Regions from separate parts of the Homo sapiens genome. Here region 1 is linked to region 2. Evidence: promoter capture Hi-C in 16 types of primary human blood cells and fetal thymus (Javierre and others, 2016). All regions are on one chromosome and are shown on one strand. The core of a region is centred on a gene start or on the middle of the fragment in contact, and the rest is flanking DNA. Distances in the headings are between cores, read along the strand shown.

Region 1 (5,434 bases), core at 78-2,577, 480 kb after region 2:
AACCCCAAGCTGTTTCCTAAGGAAGCCAAGTAATGGTGATCAACAATGTCTGGAGAATTAATAAAAGAAATTAAGAATAAAGATCCATGTTGGCCAGGCGTGGTGGCTCACACCTGTAATCCCAGCACTTTGGGAGGCCGAGGCAGGTGGATCACGAGGTCAAGAAATCGAGACCATCCTGGCCAACATGGTGAAACGCCGTCTCTACTAAAAATACAAAAGTTAGCTGGGCGTGGTAGCGCGCGCCTGTAGTCCCAGCTACTCTGGAGGCTGAGTCAGGAGAAACTCTTGAACCCGGGAGGTGGAGGTTGCAGTGAGCCGAGATCGCACCACTGCACTGCAGCCTGGGGACAGAGCGAGACTCTGTCACCAAAAAAAAAAAAAAATTTCCATGTTAATTAATACAAGTCAGAGTTCTATTTATAATTATTTGGGGCCAGTTTCAGAGGAACTTTAATTGGGCACCCTCATAAGTATGTAAAATCGCCTAAATTCATCACAGATACCTTATGTGTGTTTCAAGAGATATGCGTTCAGCTCAAATAGAAAGCTGAAAGATGGGAGAAGATGCATGGACTATGCACACAAATCTATGTACACACAAATCGGCCTGCACTTGCCGCTCTCCGCTGAGGAAGGAAGGTAGCTTTGGAGTCAGAACTAACAGAAAGTTATGTATGATCTTGGACAAGTAACTTAACCTCTAGTGTCTTATCTGTAAAATAGGGTTATTAATAGTGCTTTTCCCATAGAGATGCTGTGAGGATTAAGTGCACACAGTATGGGCTTAGAAAACGTTAGCTGTTATTATTATCCAAAAGAAACAACTGAGTTCACACTGAAGTAACTGTTTGCACTCTGCATTCAGGAAGAAGAAACGGTCTTGACGTGTGTTTTTACTACCTGTGGAGACTTCTCCCAAACCGCTCACTTCTTCGGAAGGACATAAAACTCAGAATACGCCTGGTTCCCCAGCACAGCCTGTCACTCCTACTATCCTCTGCCCTCGCCGCTCCTATCCTGCCACCGCAGGGCTAGCGGCAAGCAGCGCTAACCTCCGTGCGGTGCTTACTCGGTGCCAAGCACTGTTGTAGCACCTCACACACATTAAATCATTAGATGCTCACAGCAACTTTACGGGGCAAGTACTACTATCCTCACTTCACAGCTAGGGAAATGGAACGGTTTTCTTCTTCCAGCTTTTCGTGAGGACACCAAATCCACTAAGTTCTACTTTGCCAAGGTAATTCATGCTTGACACGTCGGCTCCTGACACTATGCGATTCTGCAAAGCGGGGCAAATGCCCTAATAAGATCAAGTCTGCAAGCAGATTCTTCTAGCGACAGTCCAAGATTTCCAAGTTTGTCCTAACCAAATGAATACAAGAAGAGAGCCTTCAAAATAAACCGGGGCGGGGGGGGGCCGAGCTGCAGCTTGCGGCTCAGCCCGCAAGGCACCCTGAGGGCGCGGCCAGCGGGGAACGCAAACCGCGTCCGTGCACGAGTCCGGGAGCCACAGCCTGGGCCACGGCAATTGACTGCGAACCCACAACAAACCATTCCCACCGAAGCTGTCACGCGCCCGGAGGGAAGTGGCCGCCGCGCCCCGCAGGGGTCAGAAGGACCCGCGGAGAGGAAGAGTGAGGGCGGGCGTGGAGAATTCCTCCCCAGCACTGCGCATCGCCGGGGGCACTGCCTGCCCCGTGCGGCCGCTGCCCACGCACCGCTGGCCACCGGTGCCTGCTCCCCGGAGGGTAAACACCGCCCCACCAGCGCCTCCCTCCCAAGGCCGGAGGTCCTGGCGGCTGGAGCGACCCTGGCCGGTAAGTAGGCACTGGCAGCCCGCGCCGCGCCGACGGGCACCCGCGCAGCCTGCAGAGCCCACAGCCCGGGCGGGCTGCAGCGCCGCGGGGCTGGGCCGGCACGTACCTCGGAGGCGGTGTGTCCAGCGGAGATCCACCCGCAGCAAGTTGGAGGAAAGCGGCGGCAAGTTTCCCCGCCCAGCGCTCGGCGGCGGCGAGCTCCGGCAGCTGCTGCGCCGCGGCAAAACTACGCCATCCGGACCCGCTGGGGACTCTCACCTCCTGCAGGGAGCTCCGGGAATCGCGCAGGGAAAGTGGCCGGGGCGCGAGAGCCGCCGACTGCCCTCCTTCACTCGCTGGGAAGAGGAAAGTGCCGCTCGGCGTCCCCGAAACCCTCGATTACCCCCATCAGGCCGACCCGGCGCACTCGCCCTCCCTCGCACACACGCGGGCGGGGACGGGCAGGACGCCACAGCAATCAGCGCGCGGGGGGAAGGGCGCTCCTCCGCCGGCCCCACCGGGGGCTCTCGGCCGCCCAGAAACTCCTCCTCCCGCCTCCCGCCTCCCGCCTCCTCTCTCCTCCCCCTTTGCCTCCGCGGCTGATGGATGAGCCCCGAATGCTGCTCGAGCCTGTGCTTCCCTTCGGGACGAGGAGGCCGAGAGAGAAGGGGCTAGGGGCGCGGCCGGGCTCAGCGTGCCCGGGTTGGGGCGGCCCCTGTCCTGGGGGAAGCGCGAGGGAGACGTGGGCACGAGCTGCGGGGACTCGCTCCCTCAAACGAGGTCCTTTGAACTTTCCAGGGCTCCCTGGAAGAGTTGGATTTTCATTTGGTTCCTTGGTCTTTATATAAAAGTTCTGAAACCTCAGATAATCTGATCACAGCCTCTTGCCCTCTCCCCAGCAGAGCTCCCCCATGCACACATTCATTCTGTCCCTGTGCTTTTTCCCAACCTCCGGTCCCGCTTGTTGTCACGCTCTGATGGTGGGCGCCGGCGGAGTCTTGCCTCTTCCCCTCCAGCAGCTGAGACTGCATTACCCAGCCGTTCCCCCTGCTAGCTAAATAAATTAATACAAATAATGGAGCTAGGTCAGCATTACCGGCGTTACCCGGAGGTGGGCGCGATATGAACGACAGTCTCGGCGGGGCAACGTCCTAAGTACCTGTGCCTGTGCGACGTCCTAAGTACCTGTGCCTGTGAAGTACACGCTGCAGAAGTTGAACTGCTGGCACCAGAACACCACTCTGATACTCTTGCTTACACCCAGTTTTTCTTATTAAAAAGTATACTTAAGTAACAGGACATTGTTTTACAAACAGGCAGGTGAAATGACCGTGGACTGACAGGTTTCAAAGACCAGACTTCCAGTCCTGACTACTGTGCGACCTTCCACAAATGGCTAACGGCTAATACCCGTCAAGGCTCAGTTCAAATGAAGGGCTTGGCCTAGAAGGCTTCTTCCAGTTCTAAAGGGCTATGGACCTATGCCTTTTTTTTTTTTTTTTTTTTTTTTTTTGAGATGGAGTCTCGCCCTGTCGCCCAGGCTGGAGTGCAGTGGCACAATCTCAATCTCAGCTCGCTACAACCTCCGCTTCTCAGGCTCAAGCGATTCTCCCACCTCAGCCTCCTGAGTAGCTGGGATTACTGACAAATGCCACCACGCCCAGCTAACTTTTTGTATTTTTTGTAGAGGGGGTTGGCAGGGCGGGGGTCTCACTTAGTTGCCCAGGCTGGTCTCAAACTCCTGAGCTCAAGAGATTCGCCTGCCTTGGCCTCCCAAAGTGCTGGGATTAGAGGCGTTAGCCGCTGCACCTGGCTCAATCCTAGGCTTTTAATATGTTGGAGAGTAGAATGAGGAGGCTTCTTATGACATGTTATTTGGAAAGTTATTGAGAGAACAGGAAATATTTCTCGTCCTCTTCCTCTTGTACCTATAGGCAGAGAATCCACCCAATTGCAGAATTGGAGATTCATTCACAAAGGTCAAATGTCATCAGTCACCTGAATTACTGCAAAAATCTCCTCACTGAACCATTTTTTTCCTTACCAATATTCATTGAGCACTGACTATGGGAGAGCCCTGAGTCAGGCATTGGGAATACAAGTAGGCATAATATTCTGAAGGAATAAACAGTCCAGATGGAGCTAGCCTCTGCTTTTATAAAGTCTAAGTTTAAGGCCTTAAGATTTCTCCTAGACTCAAATTAAACAGTATTTGATATGGTTTGGCTGTGTCCCCACCCAAATCTCATCTCGAATTGTAAGTCCCACAATCCCCATGTGTCCTAGGAGGAACCCAATGGGAGGTAATTGAATCTTGGGGATGAGTTTTTCCTGTGCTGTTCTCATGATAGTGAATAAGTCTCACGAGATCTGATGGCTTTAAAAACAGGAGTCTCCGTGTACCAGCTCTCTCTGCCTGCTGCCATCCACGTGATATGTGACTTGCTCCTCCTTACCTTCTGCCATGATTGTGAGGTCTCCCCAGCCATGTGGAACTGTAAGTCCAATAAACCTTTCCTTTGTAAATTGCCCAGTCTCGGGTATGTCTTTATCAGCAGCATGAAAACAGACTAATACAGTATTTATGCCTTGTTAACAAGTTTTAGTTTCAAGTACAGATGTGAACACTTGAACTAGGTGTGAATATTTAATCCCACATTTAAATGCATCGGCCAGGTGAGGTGGCTCATGCCTATAATCTCAGCAATTTGGGAAGCCGAGGTGGGTGGATCACTTGAGGTCAGGAGTTCTAGACCAGCCTGACCAACATGGTGAAACCCCATCTCAACTAAAATACAAAAATTAGCCAGGCATGGTGGCGGGCACCTGTAATCCCAGCTACTTGGGAGGCTGAGGCAAGAGAATCGTTTGAACCCAGGAGGCAGAGGTTGCAGTGAGCTGAGATGGTGCCATTGCACTCTAGCCTGGACAAGAGCAACACTCTGTCTCAAAAAAATAAAATTAAATTAAATGTATCAATCATGTTAAGGCCTTCTAAATAAAATGGCCTGGTAGATAATTTAGGAGTGTCTTGTCTTTAAAGAGTGATGAAGTGACTGGTCCCCGTAGAGCCAGATTCACAACAGTAACCATCAACATCTGAGCCAGCGTGGGTACTGAATTCTTTTTTGTTTGTTTGTTTTTGTTTTGAGACAGAGTCTCGCTCTGCTGCCGAGGCTGGAGTGCAGTGGCGCAATCTCAGCTCACTGCAACCTCTGCCTCCTGGGCTCAAGCAATTCTCCTGCCTCAGCCTCCTGAGTAGCTGGGATTGACAAGCACGCACCACCATGCCTGGCTAATTTTTGTATTTTTAGTAGAGACGGGGTTTCATACCATGTTGGCCAGGCTGCTCTCGAACTCCTGACCTCAAGTGATCCACCCGCCTTGGCCTCCCAAACTGCTGAGATTACAGGCATGAGCCACTGCGCCTGGCCATGGGTACTAAATTCTATACATATAAACACATTTACTTCTCACAGCCCTCTAAGAATATGTATAAATGAGGCCGATATACATGCCTTTATACAAACTGAGATCTTGTCCACGATTCAATCTCACATCCACCGACCTCAAAACCTGTCCACGATTCAATCTCACATCCACCGACCTCAAAACCTAAGTCCTTAACCACC
Region 2 (5,447 bases), core at 738-3,237:
TAAAGCAACTACAAATAGACAACAAAACTACAAATTTAAAACATTTGGGAAGAAAAGCGTTGCATAAACTGACAAAAACCTCCTATACAAACAGCAAATATTTTCAAAAGAATTTTTGATTTCTAGTTCTAGCATACAAGAATATAACTTGTTTGGGTTCAGAATAAAAATATCATGTACATATTTTAGTTCTTATATACTCCTGTGAAAAAACACCCCTTATCTAAAACTGCATCCTCTCATTCCGCATTATTTTTCTTCATAGCATGAACTGATAACTAACATTATAGTATATGCTTAGTTGTTTATTATGTTTCTCCCTTTAGAGCAAGCAGGGACTTTTTGCTCATTAATGTGTTCCAATAACCCAGAATAGTGCCTGGCACACAGTAAATGGTCCATAAGAATGCATTGTGGAATAAATGCATTAGCAAGAACCAGTTTATAAAAATAGTGTCAAATAAAAATAATTTTCTGTTAATTTAGAAACTTAAAATTTGAGCCCCAATCTTCAACGTTCAGTTAAAAAATGTGAAATTTTTTTCTAGTTCAGGATTTATGTAAATAAAATCATGAAGGTTCTAAAAGATGATGAATTTGGCACTTTCATTATGTAAATCTTTTTTTAAAAAAGAAACACAGGTCCTAAAAGGGACCTTGCTACAGTTCAGTATGAGTTTGTGATGTGAGGGGATGCTATTTTAAATTAATTAAAGTTCTAGGTTTAGATTCAGATTTTTTAAGTTCCTATTATTTATTATTAAAGTTTTAGTTTCAGCACGTGGCACAAAATTAGATTGCCAAACACAATAAACAATATCATCCCAGGTAGTTTTAAGTGTCTGCTCTGCTATAATCACTGTTAAAATACTTAAGCTATTTTTGAGTCTACATAATTTGCGGTGCCGACCTTCTCTAGTTATATTAATGACAATCTCTAGTTAAATATTAATACAACTAGATACAATTAATCTTTAGTTATATTAATGACAATTCACCATTTTGTCTTCTGTAATCTTTACTTATTGTATAAAATTATTGTATACAATTATTGTATAAACTTATTGTATAAAATTGCAGGCCTATTACTTCTTACAATTTTTACTCAGAAACATACTCCTTATTTTAAAAGTACAGAAACTCAGATAAAAATTATTGATTTGCTAGAAATTTTTGTGAGTTAAGGAAGAAGTAGGGACCAACATTTACGGGAATAACCGACCGTCACAAATAACTGCAGAGAATCTGACAAAGAAGGAAAAATCAACGGGAACAAATTACTCCGAGGCTCGGCCTGGGAAAGGACCATACAATTGTCGGAGCCCCAGATCTCACCCCCTCTCCCCAGGCACCAACAGGGCTGGCTGGAAGGGTCCGGCTGGGGACCGAATCAGCACCTAAAGCAAAATAACAGCTCTGTGGATTTCCTAAGGAGAATATCCTAAATCCAAGGCAGAGGCCTTAGGGCCCCGAGAGTGGCACAAGAACGGGGCGCTGGGGCGCGTCACTCCACCCCCCGGGTCCCGTTTCCTCCCACCGCTGTGAAACCCGCGGCTCAGACAGATGGGTACGTCCCCCCCAGCGCTCGCTCAGGGGGCGCCACACACCGGAACACAAGACACAGGAACCGAACACCAATCAGCCGACTTTAGGGGCGGGCCGGACGCCCAGCCGGTCCCACCTCGCGGGGAGCTGGGCCCGCCCTGCGCCCGAGCGCGCCGCAGGCCTCACCGCTTTCTGACTGGAAATGCGGCTGAGGCGCTGGCGCGGGCCGGCGGCCTGGAGACGCCTGGTGACCAACAACTCGCCGCGCCCGTCCGCTGCCTGCCCGGCAGACGGCTCTAGAGATCGACCGCTGCCCGGACGGCTCGGCTGGGTCCCCACTTCCCCGCGGGCGTCGGGCCCCCGTCCCCACCTTCCCCGCGGGCGTCCGGGCCCCTCTCCTCACCTCCCTGCGGACAGCTCCTAGGCCAGTCGAGCGCCGATTTATCAGCCCCTCTGAGGACCGCCAAGCCTGGCTAAGCCGAGCTCCAAGCAATGGATCGCCCAAGCCCCCAACCTCTCCCTTCCTACCTTTTTTTCTCCGAAAGTTTATAACTGGTTTTGAATATATCTCTTGCAGTTTACTGTGTCTATTCTCTTTAAATACAGCTCCTAATCCTGGGTTCTAAGGGTCTACTAAATGGTACCCTTTCCCTAAGCTAACCTGCTTCTCTACCCCCACAACCACCACTCCACAAACATACCCCAACCTGCCTTTCTCATCAAAGTTAGCCAGGCCTCAGCTCTGGGACTTCCGGTCTCTTCGTACCTAAAAAGTGTTTTACCTATATTATTTATAAAATATCACAGTGGCACTCATGAGGTCGGTATTACTGGGGAACTTGATTCAGAAATAAAGTTAAATTTCAGAAATAAATATTCTAAAACACAATGATATTTAAATGTGTTTAGCCAACATGAATTTATAAAAACAGGGCAATAATGTGTTCTTAGGCTGTAAACATGAACAAACTATAAATTATCCTTTTAAGTTTCTTTAGAATTGTCCTCTGAAGATTTGGCAGGGAATGTTTTGTAGATGATAAAATAGCAACGAATCAATGATGCTTTTCTTACAGAGACATTTATCTTTCCTTTGGAAACCCCCACCTGTGACATCTAGGGCCAACCTACTGCTGTCTGACTGCCCTATTCCTGTTCTCTTTTTTCTTGCAGTTCTACTGTTCATTAGCTATATGACCTTGGAAAAGACCCAACCTTTAAGTCTTAATTCTGCATCCTCAGTGATACTCATAAGCTCTAACTCCTAGATACTGCTGCAAGGGTTAAATAAAATAATATTTGCAGTAGTCCTACCACACAGTAAATGCTCATGAATATTAATTTCTTTCACCTTCTCTGAAATGTAAAATTATTCCAGTAATTGGGTGAGCCAGTTATTTGGATACTGATAAAATAACAAGTCTTTGTCTCTTGGAGAAAATAACATTTTGACTGCATAAACTATTCTTAATAGAAAGGTTGAATTATCATTCCTCTCAAAAATACTGGAGAGGAAAGTTACTTTCCATAGACTGCATAGAGGAAAATAACGAAACAGTGCATTTGTTATAGTGAACCCCTCAATGTGTTGAAATTCATACATTGAATTCTAACCCCCGATGTGATGATATTTGAACGTGGGACTTTTGTGAGGTAATTAACTCAAAAGGGTAGAGCCTTCATGAGTAGGATTGTGCCCTTTTAAGAGGCCAGAGAGTTAGCTCGCTCTTTTCCTACCATGTGAGGATACAGGAGGACGGTATCTGCAAGCCAGGAAGGAGGCCCTCGCCAAATACCGGATCTGCCTGCACTGTGATCTTGGACTTCTCAGGCACCAAAATTGTGACAAATGTTTGTTGTTTAAGCCACCCAGCCTATGGTAATTTGTTATAGCAGCTTGAACTAAGATAGGGTTTGAGTGATAGAATTGTAGAATTCAGCAACAGGCAGGTACAGGGGAGTCTTACTGTCAAAGCACACAGTAGCAAATGGCCACCATGTTCATAAACAAAAACATTCATTCATTCACTCACTCATTTATTCAAGAATGCATGTGGAATCTATAGAGCCTTACTTTCTCTTAAAATAATGTAATAAAAATGTCAAAGCTGCAGTTTTTAAAAGGAAGCCTCAGGACAGTGATAAAGTTACTAAAAATCCCATTTTGGGGGGAGGGATTACCATGGTTTTTAGTAATGTTGCCACATTTCTCAAGAAAACATTTTAATCCTAAAGATTTAATTTTACAACCAGTGCAACAATGTCATAAGCAATCCTCCAAATTGAATAACATAACTAACATTTGAAATATAGTCTTCCCGGTCAACTTCTGGCATGACTGCATAAAGAGCTTTGCTACCTCACTTCTCAGTGAAACTGGTGAAAATTCTAGAAAAATGACTCAGACCCTCTGGAAATGATCCTAAGGGCAAACAGCAAAAGAAGAAACATCTTTTCAAGAAAGAGATACAAAAATTTGGTAAGAAAGGCAAGGCTCTGTGGTATTTTATCCAAGACTCCCAAGTTCCAGCTTAGCAAGACAGGCTCCATTCTAGACAGCTGCAGCCAAGAATACAGAGCTCTCTCTGCACCCAGCTCCCACTAGAAGGCGCGCTTTCTTTCTTTCATTGTGGTAAAACATGCGTAATATTTATAATTTTAACCATATATAAGTGTATAATTCAGGGACATTAAATACACTCATAGTGTTGTATAACCATCACTCTTATCCATACCCAAAACTTTTTCATTATCCCCAACAAGAAATTTGTGCCCATTCAGGGAGGGGAACTTCACACACTGGGGCCCGTTGGGGGGTGAGGGGCTGGGGGAAGGATAGCATTGGGAGAAATACTTAATGTAAATGACGAGTTGATGGGTGCAGCAAACCGACATGGCACATGTATATCTATGTAACAAACCTGCACGTTGTGCACATGTACCCCAAAACTTAAAGTATAAGAAAAAAAAAAAGAAATTTCTGCCCATTAAACAGGAACTCCTTCTTTTCCCCTTTCCCTAATTCCTGGTAACCTCTATTCTACTTTCTATTTCTATGAGTTTACCTATCCTAAGTACTTCATATAAGTGGGATCATACAATATTTGTTCTTCTATTTCTGGATTATTCACTTAGCATAATGTTTTCAATGTTCATCCATGTTGTAGCATGGATCAGAATTTTACTCCTTTTTAAGGCTCAATAATATTCTATTGTATTTATATACCACATTTTGTTTATCCATTTGTAATCCTGGCTAAGGGACATTTGAGTTGTTTCCACATTTCCACCTTTTGGCTATTGTGAATAATGCTTCTATGAACATTCGTGTGTAAATATCTCCGTTCAAGTCCCTGCTTTCAATTCCTTTGGATATGTACCTAGGAGTGGAATTGCTGGGACATATGGTAATGCTATTACAGCCAATGCCATGAGTTCTAGCTGATGTATCCAACATAACCAAAATTTTCTTCACTTTGTAACATCCACATCTTTTACACCCTGATTAGTCAGTAGAAATTGATATTGAAAAATTAGTCTCAGGCTGGGCAACACAGCGAGACTTCATCTCTACCAAAATTTTAAAAACTAACCAGGTGTGGTGGTGTGTGCCTGTAGTCCTAGCTGCTTGGCAGGCTGAGGCAGGAGAATGGCTTGAACCAAGGAATTCCAGGCTGCAGTGAGCTGTGATCCCACTACTGCACTCCAACCTGGGCAATAGAGCAAGATCCTGTATCTAAAAAAGCAAGAAAGAAAAAAGAAAAATTAGTGTTGATGGCTCTAGAGAAGCAGGAACCAAGAAATGTTGAGGTTTCAAGACTATTTTTCTGCAGATGACAGCCAGAAATGTGTTGTGTTTTTTATTGTCAGATTTGGACAAGAAACAGTGAAGAGATCATTTG

The links. Contacts are between HindIII fragments. The CHiCAGO score rates a contact against its expected background, and 5 or more counts as called.
Region 1: a contact is called between a fragment that was not itself captured here and the fragment with the promoter of HFM1 in region 2, in 1 of 17 cell types (monocytes). The highest score is 5.0, in monocytes.

What each region holds. Positions count from the first base shown.
Region 1 is chr1:91,883,949-91,889,382 of GRCh38, forward strand. It overlaps TGFBR3 (transforming growth factor beta receptor 3), which reads right to left and starts at 2,203. Exons shown (of 17, transcript NM_003243.5): 1 at 1,930-2,203. RefSeq lists enhancers at 1,011-1,774, 1,775-2,537 and silencers at 1,680-1,889, 1,900-1,979, 2,330-2,469. The HindIII fragment of the contact is 8,259 bases long and covers 1-5,434 here.
Region 2 is chr1:91,402,850-91,408,296 of GRCh38, forward strand. HFM1 (helicase for meiosis 1) reads right to left here and starts at 1,988. Exons shown (of 39, transcript NM_001017975.6): 1 at 1,949-1,988. RefSeq lists a silencer at 1,583-1,962. The HindIII fragment of the contact is 14,376 bases long and covers 1-5,447 here.